Regions from separate parts of the Homo sapiens genome. Here region 2 is linked to region 1. Evidence: promoter capture Hi-C in 16 types of primary human blood cells and fetal thymus (Javierre and others, 2016). All regions are on one chromosome and are shown on one strand. Each heading gives the region's core, a stretch centred on a gene start or on the middle of the fragment in contact. The rest is flanking DNA. Distances are from core to core; before and after follow the strand shown.

Region 1 (5,194 bases), core at 2,121-4,620:
ACTGGTACAGCAACAAAAGCCAATGAAAGAATAATCTGCTCCTATCTTACTAAAAAGACAACTCTTTCACATACACGCTAGCTTGCCCCAGGTGTGAGAACTGAAACAGCAGAGTAAGCAGCAGATCACAGGTGTCTGAGCATGAGAATCAAACCTAAAGAATCAGACAGTTAAGTAACAGATCAGCATCAAAAGTAAATTGACAGTTACCTAATTCAGTAAATTTAAAACAACTTCAAGGATTAAAAACATGGAATTGCCTAATAGTTCATTATATATGCATATATATAATCGATATCCCCATAATACATTACTATAATGTTCTTATAGCCATTGCCTCATTGCCTCTTATAGCCACTATCAGGTATGATGCCTCATATCATCATACATGATAATGTAGAAAAATTTGAACATCCTGATAAATAGATGTAATTTCAACTGATAAAAATATATATATATATAATGATGACATGCTATTTATAAAAACTATAGGTTTGCTCATCTGTGCACTCATGCAAACACATCACATGTACACACTTACACATATATATACTAACACTCATATACACTAGTACACATATACATTTATATGGCCGAGATCACAAAACCACACTCCAGCCTGGGCAACAGTGCGAGACTCTGTCTCAAAAAAAAAAAAAAAGGAATTCCACATGCAGCTTCTCTAGTCTTAGTCCACAGAACACTCACAGTGCATCCAGATGTGGCCCCTGAACAATCCCTGCTGCCCAACAGCACTGACACCACAAGGCCCACACCCCATCTCCATCCGTGTCTGGGTGTGAGCACTTCCCAGGACCATGCCCAGTGGAACCTCTTCCCAAGTTCATGTCATTGGGTCATAGGGAACTGGAATCTTAAGTGGAAGTGAAAGGGACTGGAAGAAGCCATGGGTAAGTGCAATGAAATGAGTCAGGCAGGATGCTTCAGAGTCAGAGATTAGCAACTCCAATGCCTGGCATTTCAGGAAGAAACAGAGACAGAACAATCCACTGAGAACATTACCTTACCTGAGTAAGGGCCATTCCTGACTTCCTTTCTTTCCTCTTCCGAGTTGCTTCCTTGCATAATATGTCTCTTTGAAAGTGAATCCTAGTATCAAAAATAATGCTGTTTAGGGCTTAGAATCAACACACCCACTTCCTGTGCCACAGCCACACAAAAAGGGAAGACTTCACCTTCTGGAAGGATGGTCCTCTGCTGCCTACTGTTGATCTCCCACAGGAAAATCAACAAGTGAGTTTTTTACTCCCTTCCTCAAAACTCTCTCCTGTCTCATGGTGAGCGACACACACACTGCAGCAGTGCAGAGCTGGGCTTGACTAAGCTCCCCTTAAAAGCACAGACTTGGCCGGGTGCGGTGGCTCCCACCTATAATCCTAGCACTTTGGGAGGCCGAGGTGGGCAGATCATGAGGTCAGGAGTTTGAGACCAGCCTGGCCAACATAATGAAACCCTCGTCTCTACTAAGGATACAAAAAATTAGCTGGGCGTGGTGACACGGGCCTGTAATCCCAGCTACTCAGGAAGCTGAGGCAGGAGAATCCCTTGAACTTGGGAGGCAGAGGTTGCAGTGAGCCGAGATCGCACCATTGCACTCCAGCCTGGGTGACAGGGTGAAACTCCATCTTAAAAAAGAAAAAGAAAAAAAAAAGGCCATGTGTGGTGGTTCACGCCTGTAATCCCAGCACTTTGAGAGGCCAAGGCAGGTCGATCACGAGGTCAGGAGTTCAAGATCAGCCTGGCCAAGATGGTGAAACCCCGTCTCTCCTAAAAATACAAAATTTAGCTGGGTAATGGCAGGCACCTATAATCCCAGCTCTTAGGAGGCTGAGGCAGGAGAATTGCTTGAACCCAGGAGACAGAGGTTGCAGTGAGCCAAGATTTTAACACTGCACTCCAGCCTGGGTGACAGAGTGCGACTCTATCTCAAAAAAAAACAAAAAAAAAGCACAGACCTCACCCTGACCAAAGCTCATGCAGAGCACAGGCCCCTCAGCCCTCTGTGGATCACAGTGCTCAATTCTAGATATAGACTATAGTAGAATCCTTTTATCGATGTGCACTATGTTCCAAGAGCCCCAATGGATGCCTGAAACCTCCATCAGTACTAAACCCTATTAATTCCCCTTAAAGACTCCATGTTACAGCTTCTCACTGGCATATCCAAATTGTCAGCATCAAGGCCGGGCGCAGTGGCTCACGCCTGTAATCCCAGCACTTTGGGAGGCCGAGGCAGGTGGATCACCTGAGGTCAGGAGTTCAAGACCAGCCTGGCCAACATGGTCAAACCCTGTCTGTACTAAAAATATAAAAACTAGCCGGCCGTGGTGGTGGACACCTGTAATCCCAGCTACTCGGGAGACTGAGGCAGGAGAATTGCTTGAACCCAGGAGACAGAGGTTGCAGTCAGCCAACACAGTGCCACTGCACTCCAGCCTTGGCGTCAGAGTGAGACTCTGTCTCAAAAAAACCCAAAAAAAAAATTGTCAGCATCAATCAATACTCATGTGCCTGGAGGGCATTGTTAAGGGAAAAAAAAAAGGGTTACATGAAAAAAAAGCACTGAGATACCATAAAAGTGGATCTCATCCAAAAGACTATTGGCCAAGTACGGTGGCTCATGCCTGTAATCCCAGCACTTTGAAAGGATGAGGCGGGCAGATCACCTGAGGTCAGGAGTTCGAGACCAGCCTGGCCAACATGGTGAAACCCCATCTCTACTAAAAATACAAAATTAGAGAGGCATGGTGGCGTATGCCTGTAATCCCAGCTACTCGGGAGGCCCAGGCGGGAGAATCGCTTGAATCCGGGAGGCGGAGTTTGCAGTGAGCCGAGATCACGCCATTGCACTCCAGCCTGGGCAACAAGAGCAAAACTCAGTCTCAGGAAAAAAAAAAAAAAAAAGACTATTAAGTGACTAACGAGCAGATACAGTCTAAAGTCAGCCCTTGGTATCTCTGGGGTACACATCAATGGATTCAATCAACTAGACTGAATAATTACAAAAAATGAAAAAAAAATAGCAAAGTGCCAGGATTACAGGCGTGAGGCACCGCGCCCGGCCTAGAAGCCTCCAAGCGGTTTTAACACGCAGGTAAGCGACCTCCAGACTCTCTAGAGAATGTCTGAATTTACTTGGAGTGGATAGAGCGGTGCCGGGACTTCAAGGTCTGCATGAGCCCTCAGATCGCGGGTGTAGAAGCACACAGGAACTGGGCAGCCTAAATTTAATCTAGACAAAGGCAAACTCACGAGTGGCGGCTTAGACAGTCTTTCCGCGCAGTCGGGTGCCGGGTCTACAGGAAAAAGCGCGCGAAACGTTCACTCCATGATCTCGACTTCCGGGTCTGCAGGAAATTGCGCGCGCATCGTACAGGCCGGGCCCGGGGCCGAGGGCAGGGCCGGGACAGGGCGGGCTCAAGGCGGGGTCTATGCTTCTGTCAGTCTGACTCAGCGATCCTGTTTTAGGGTTTTGGAGGCGAGATCTGCTCAGCACTTCTGTAAACAGATCTGTAAACAGATCTTGCTGGGGCAGAGCAAAATCGGTTGGTGATTAGATTAGATCCACGAGAATTCCTGTTATTACAATAAATTTTAAGTCCCAACTACTCTGGAAGCAGAGAGAGAAGAGAGCGTGAAAAGAAAGCAAAAAGAAAGACAAGGCCGGGTGCGGTGGCTCACTCCTGTAATCCCAGCACTTTGGGAGGCCAAGCCGGGCGGATCACGAGGTCAGGAGATCGAGACCATCCTGGCCAACATGATGAAACCCCCGTCTCTACTAAAAACACAAAAATTAGCTGGGTGTGGTGGTGGGCGCCTGTAGTCCCAGCTACTCGGGAGGCTGAGGCAGGAGAATCACTTGAACCCGGGAGGCAGGGTTGCAGTGAGCCGAAATCGTACCACTACACTCCAGCCTGGCGATGGAGTGAGACTCCGTCTCAAAAAAAAAAAAAAAAAAGAAAAGAAAGAAAGAAAATAAGACTAGAGAGAAATAGTGCAACAAAGAAAAGAATGTAGGTGTCTGTGCCTGTGTGTGAGAAAAAGGGAGAGACAAGAAAGAACGAAAGAAAGACATTTTTTTTGTTTGTTTGTTTGTTTGAGAGTTTCGCTCGTTGCCCAGGCTGAAGCTCAATGATGAGATCTCGGCTCACTGCAACCTATGCCTCCCAGGTTCAAGTGATTCTCCTGCCTCAGCCTCCCGAGTAGCTGGGATTACAGGTGCGCACCACCACACCCGACTAATTTGTTGTATTTTTAGTAGAGACGGGGTTTCACCATGGCCAGGCTGGTCTTGAACTTCTGACCTCAGGTGATCTGCCCGCCTCGGCCTCCCAGAGTGTTGGGATTACAGGCGTGAGCCACTATGCCCAGCCAGAAAGACAAATTTTAGGAATTAAGACACTTTGGAACTATCTGTGAAGGGGATGGAAGCTAAAGTGTGAAATGCTAAACCCTGCCAGAGTGGAATGCGCAGTATCATGCCAATGCCCCATAGAATAGAAATACTTTTTTTTTTTTTTTTGAGATGGAGTCTTGCTCTGTCGTCCAGGCTGGAGTGCAGTGGCACAATCTCGGCTCACCGCAAGCTTCGCCTCCCGGGTTCACACCATTCTCCTGCCTCAGCCTCCCGAGTAGCTGGTACTACAGGCACCCGCCACCATGCCTGGCTAATTTTTTTTGTATTTTTAGTAGAGACTGGGTTTCACCGTAGTCTCGATCTCCCGACCTCATGATCCGCCCGCCTCAGCCTCCCTAAGTGCTGGGATTACAGGCGTGAGCCACCGCGCCCGGCTAGAAATACTTTTCATTTACATTCCCCATTCACTCCAGAGGGTGAGGTCAACCCTGTGCTCAATTCCAGAAACTTTCCTAGGGACACCACCTTGGGCATAGAGGACTAAGGTCAGTGTGAAGTCAGGTCACCAACTCTTTTTAAAAAAGCCAATAACTTTAAAAATAGGTATAAATTATTTAGTTTAAGACTTTTTTTTTTTTTTTAAAGACAGGGAATCAACCTGTGACATCCAGGCTGGAGTGCAGTGGCACAATCATAGCTCACTACAACCTTGACTTCCTGGGGTCATGGGCACCTCCTACCTCAGTCTCCCGAGTAGCTGGAAGTACAGGCCTGTGACATTGGACTGTGCTAATTTTTTAGTTTTATATATTATTA
Region 2 (5,240 bases), core at 660-3,159, 870 kb before region 1:
TGTGAATGAATTTCATTTGTAATGATGTACTCTATTAGCCTTGGAACTTTTGTTATTAAAAGTCATTGTAAAATTCTGCTTGGTTAATTTCTTTCCATATGAATAAAATTCTCTGAACTATGACACGTTTTACAGGTGTTTTGAGTTTTCCTTTTCACCTCAGGCCAATTTCTTTACATTTCAATCATCGTGTTTCATTTACTTGAGCAAAGAGGACTGGGTGCCCAGAGTGTCACCTGCAGACCCGTAGCTTCTGAGAAACACAGACCCTCAGGCACAGCCCCACCCCCACCTGCTCAATCAGTAGCTGCAGCTTATATAGCAACCCCAGGTGTTTCACATGTGGGTTAAAGTGGGAGAAGCACAAACATAGACTGACTCTCAACTTGGTTGCACGTTGGAATCTCCTGGTGAGCTTCCCCCGCTGGCTGGGTCCCACCCTTGGAGAGAGTCATGTTCTAAGTCCCGTGTGAGGCTGGATATAGGGATGGGTGGACCCTTTGAGGTTAAGTCAAACATGGGTCAAGGTTAGGAAACACTGGAGGGAGAGGGCGAAGACAATGCTTCCCTAACCTGCCTCCTCCCGTTTTCACCTTGGGAGGAAACTCTCCTGAATCCAGAAAGATCAGAAGGCTCTGAGGGTGGGATTTCAGTCTCAGGAGATCGTCCCTGTCTCTCTAGGACCTGGTCCCTAAAAAGCAGTGGATGGAAGTCTCCAGGCTGCCTCTTGGATGGGGGCGGAAGCCATGAAATATAAAGAGTGATCTGGAAGCTCAGGTTGAACTCCTCCAGCGTGCTTTAGTAAGGTAATTTTTAAATATACGTTACGTGAGAGCCATCTCTTCAACTCCGGCCACCCAATTTGCTGTACAAACAGTTTCCCTGATAGAGAAATTACACTCTAGCAGGCTGCACCACAGGATCCCAGGCAGCCTGTGGGAAATGCGCGGGTGTAGATGGGGTGAGCATGGGGCCTGCCAGGGTAGAGGGAGGTTTCATCTTTTGTTTCTTCACCCTAAGTTCTGCGAAGCTTCCTTCTTCTGCTTGTACGTTCAGCAACCAGGGAGGGCCAGATACGGAGCCTTTCTTTTTCTGCCCACGCGTGCACCCATGACCCATGCTTATCCCCGGGGACTTTCAGCCTCCCCCGCACCTAGCCCACCCTCCCTGCAATGCACCACAGAGGCCAGAATGGAAACAGGGGCATGCATATCCAGCAGAGCTGTAGAAGTTTGAGTTCCCCACTTACAACAAATTCCAAGAATATTTAGTTTCTTCTTTAATGTTGACGAAGTCAGGATAGGGACAGAGGAAGAAACTGGGGTGCAGAGCAGGAGAGTGTCTGCGCTGGTAAGGAAGGCAGCAGCAAAGCTCGACCCTCCCAGTGCCACCTGCCTGCTGGCTGCTTAAGGCTCAAATACGGAAGCTAGAATGCTTTCAAGTCACCCTTGAATCTTCACTGTTCTGCCAGGAAAAGAATGAATAGTAAGCAAAGCACATTCAGTTGCTTGTTTAAATCCTTCTTCCCTTACATGAGCTTCACTAGCATGGAAGAGCAGGGAGGCTTCCTACTCCTCCTTGTTTCCAGCTTGATGAACACATGTACTCCATGACCACGTGCCTTCTCTTATCCCTCAACCCGTCCTTTCCTTTTCCAGAAAATCATTTTTCTCTCAGCATCCCACCATCATCAAGACTGTCATGAAATATGTAGGGCCTTCAAGCAGGAGGCAGAATCTTTGTTACATGGTCATGTCTGTCTTTTACCCCCAATGATGACAGTGTCAACATCTCTTAGAATGATTTCTTATACAACAATCCTTGAAAGGGTGCTTTGGAACAGGAGTGGACAAATGATGTCAAAAACATGAGGGCTACTCAAGGAAAATGACTCAAAAAGGTACACTCGGGCCGGGCGCGGTGGCTCACGCCTGTAATCCCAGCACTTTGGGAGGCCAAGGCAGGCAGATCACAGAACAGGCAGGACTATTACTTTCACTGGAAAGCTAAGGAACACGTAGATGGATAAAGCTACTGATTTGTCAAAATCCAAAATTTTAGAGCAAAGAGGGGGCTTGACCTTGGCAGGGTTGGTAAAGAGTGGTGGAGTTAAACTCTATGCAAGGGAGAATTTAACTGTCTTCTTCAAGTAATGCAGATGTATATAGAGTCATTTTAAGTCCTGTCCTCTTATTGTAGATTGGTGTTATTTTATTTTGTAACTTTGTAACAAGTTTACATTCATGGATAAAGATTTATAGAATATGCCAATACAAACTTCAAATAAAATTGAGATATCTTAACATAACATAGACGCAGAATGACCTTATAATTCTCTAGGAACTGCTCCATGACAAATCATATTTAAAGAATGCACAATTGCCTCTATCTTGAGATGGCAGCAGACATAAGATTTTGCTTTTATGCCAGAAATAAATTGGAACCTATCACAGAAATCACTGAACACTATGTCTTGCTCCAAACTATGGGAAATGAAACACCAATATGTGATAAAATCATACAAGGTAGAAACCTAATGTTAGTAATTTCAAATTATATACTTATCTCTATATTCATAATTGATACAAGTAAAAGTAATAGCAATAAAGCATGATTTCTGAAACATGTTAAGTGGAAGCCCCTTGTACAAATGGAATCTTTAACGTGTTAAATTTTGTGTATTTTACAAATCAAAATTGTACTGTGGAAATTAAAAGTTCCTCTTCAAAACTTCCCTTTTTGTTAATAATATTAAGTTCTAAGAATGATAGTCCCACTTAAAAGCTTCTTTCAAGTTTCCTTCATGTTTCATACTATTAACAAATCTTTTACCCTACTAATAACTCTTTGTTGTGCCCCGGGCAGTTGGTAAACACAGTAAAGAAATAAGTAATCCTATATCCCTGTACTGTAAACCAAGAGGCCTAACCCATATGTTTCCTGGCCTGTCCGGACAGGCCTAGACATGCCCAGGCATGTCCCAGCTTGCAGCCCAGGCTTCTTTCCTTATTTGGAAATGTTATTGTTTTCCTAGTTTCCTACAACCAACCCCATCCCTTTCTTTGTTCCCCATTGTGCCTTTACCTATTTAGTAAAGTTTTAAGTTTTTAGCCAATCGGTATCAGTCTAGATTGTGCAGTCCAGCTCCAGCCAACGGAGATAGGACGCAGCAGTAGGGGCCCAATGCGTTAGGAATAAGAATCCCTGCTTTCCTTTGTTTGGGGTGCTCTCATGGCAATCAGGCTTATAGGCAGCACCCTTCTGCAGAAGTAAAATTGCCTTGCTGAGAAATCTTTTGTTCAAGTACTCATTTTCTTTGCGACTCCCAGCTTTCATTTCCAGCAGTACACTGTGGGATTCATATGAGACTATGCTTAAACCAGAGAATACATCATTAGAAACTTTTGTGCCCAAGGGCTGCTCTCTGAAACCCAGTTTGTATGTTACCACTTCCTTAAATGCTGATTCTTTAACTAGAAGATGGAAAACAATCTGTCAGTATGAAGAGACTATGGATGTTTTCAGGAGGAGACAATCAGTTTCCACTAAGCATTCATGCACTAAGGATGAGAGAAAACATTCGTATTCCAGCAACTGCCATTTGGAGACACCCTTTCTGCACAGGATTAGGTGATTCCTCTTGACCTCTCCTATCTCTTTGAGAAGCATGGTGGTCTTGTAGTGCACTCTTAATAATTCTGAAAATTGAGTCTATAATTCTCCTAGGGTGGACTGAACAGTAGATTAATTTTGGAGCTAAAGTCCTTAAGCACATTACAAGTCAGTTTTCATTATCACTTGGATTAAACACCAACAATCAATGTCACTGCGGATTACACTAAATTGCATTATGTGACATCAGGGATTGGTGTAGGGTGTCCAAGGGAGAGAATAGAGTCCTGGGTTCTTAGTTTGTTTCTGGTTGGGCCAGTAAAGTCCCTTCCTCAACCCTCTTTTCTGCTTATCACTAGAGATGGGGTTTCACTGAATTAGCCAGGGTGGTCTTGATCTCCTGACCTTGTGATCTGCCCGCCTCGGCCTCCCAAAGTGCTGGGATTACAGGCACGAGCCACCATGCCCGGTCCATTATTTTATTTTATTTATTTTTTGCGACAGAGTCTCGCTCTATCGCCCAGGCTGGAGTACAGTGGTGCCACCTCAATTCACTACAGCCTTCGCCTCCCAGGCTCAACGGATTCTCCTGCCTCAGCCTCCCAAGTAATTGCGATTCCAGGTCAGTGCCCTCACACCCAGCTAATTTTGTATTTTTGGTAGAGATAGGATTTCACCATATTGGCCAGGCTGGTCTCAAACGCCTGGCCTCAAGTCATCCACACACCTCAGCCTTCCAAAGTGCTGGGATTATAGCCGTGAGCCACCGCACCCTGCCCCCACTATTTTAAAGTGGATCGCAAGAAAATCTTCCTAACTTTTGCCTCAGTGGAAGGCATTATCTTTGTTATATTGTTCAAATAATTTATCTATCTTGTAACGCCTATGAAGACAGTACCACCATCTTTCAAGGCTGTTTTTTACACAAAATCTTTAGAGAGTCTGGAGCAGAAGCTGATAAAAGACGTAGGAAACATAAGGAATGCATGGGGAAAATATCTCTAAACACAGTGGACTTCTCCCTTTAGAATATGAAAATAGGCCGGATGCAGTGGCTCATGCCTGTAATCCCAGGACTTTGGGAAGCCAAGGCAGGTGGATCACCTGAGGTCAAGAGTTCGAGACCAGCCTGACCAACATGGAAAAACCCCATCTCAACTGAAAATACAAAATTAGCCAGGCATGGTGGCGCATGCCTGTAATCCCAGCTATTCAGGAGAGTAGGTGGGATTATTTTGTTTTATTTTATTTTATTTGTAAAATGAATAAGCAGAAGAATCACTTGAACCTCGGGGGCGGTGTGGGGGAGGTTGTGGTGAGCCGAGACCACACCATTGCACTCCAGTCTGGGCAACAAGAGCAAAACTTTGTCTATATATATATATATATATATATATATATATATATATATATATATGAAAATAATTGATACTTTGAGAAAAAAGGCCCATTAAAGATTCTGGACACAAAGCTTTGTTTTGTAGTGCTGTGGGATTGCTAACATGTCCAGTAGGCAGGAAGAAGGGAGAGAATGACCACAAGGCTTCACAGAAATGTGAGCTCCAGTGGTGATGAGAGAAAGAGTAGAAACCGTAATGAAACATGATGGTTTCCATCCAGTAAAAGTC

The links. Contacts are between HindIII fragments. The CHiCAGO score rates a contact against its expected background, and 5 or more counts as called.
Region 2: a contact is called between a fragment that was not itself captured here and the fragment with the promoter of ZNF534 in region 1, in 1 of 17 cell types (M2 macrophages). The highest score is 5.2, in M2 macrophages.

The regions. Positions count from the first base shown.
Region 1 is chr19:52,427,324-52,432,517 of GRCh38, reverse strand. It overlaps ZNF534 (zinc finger protein 534), which reads right to left and starts at 3,370. Exons shown (of 5, transcript NM_001143938.3): 1 at 3,274-3,370; 2 at 1,029-1,110. The coding sequence starts at 1,043. The HindIII fragment of the contact is 5,138 bases long and covers 1-4,609 here.
Region 2 is chr19:53,293,008-53,298,247 of GRCh38, reverse strand. No RefSeq gene overlaps it. Among named protein-coding and RNA genes, the nearest start is that of VN1R4, 28 kb to the right of the region's middle. RefSeq lists an enhancer at 2,340-3,539. The HindIII fragment of the contact is 1,754 bases long and covers 1,033-2,786 here.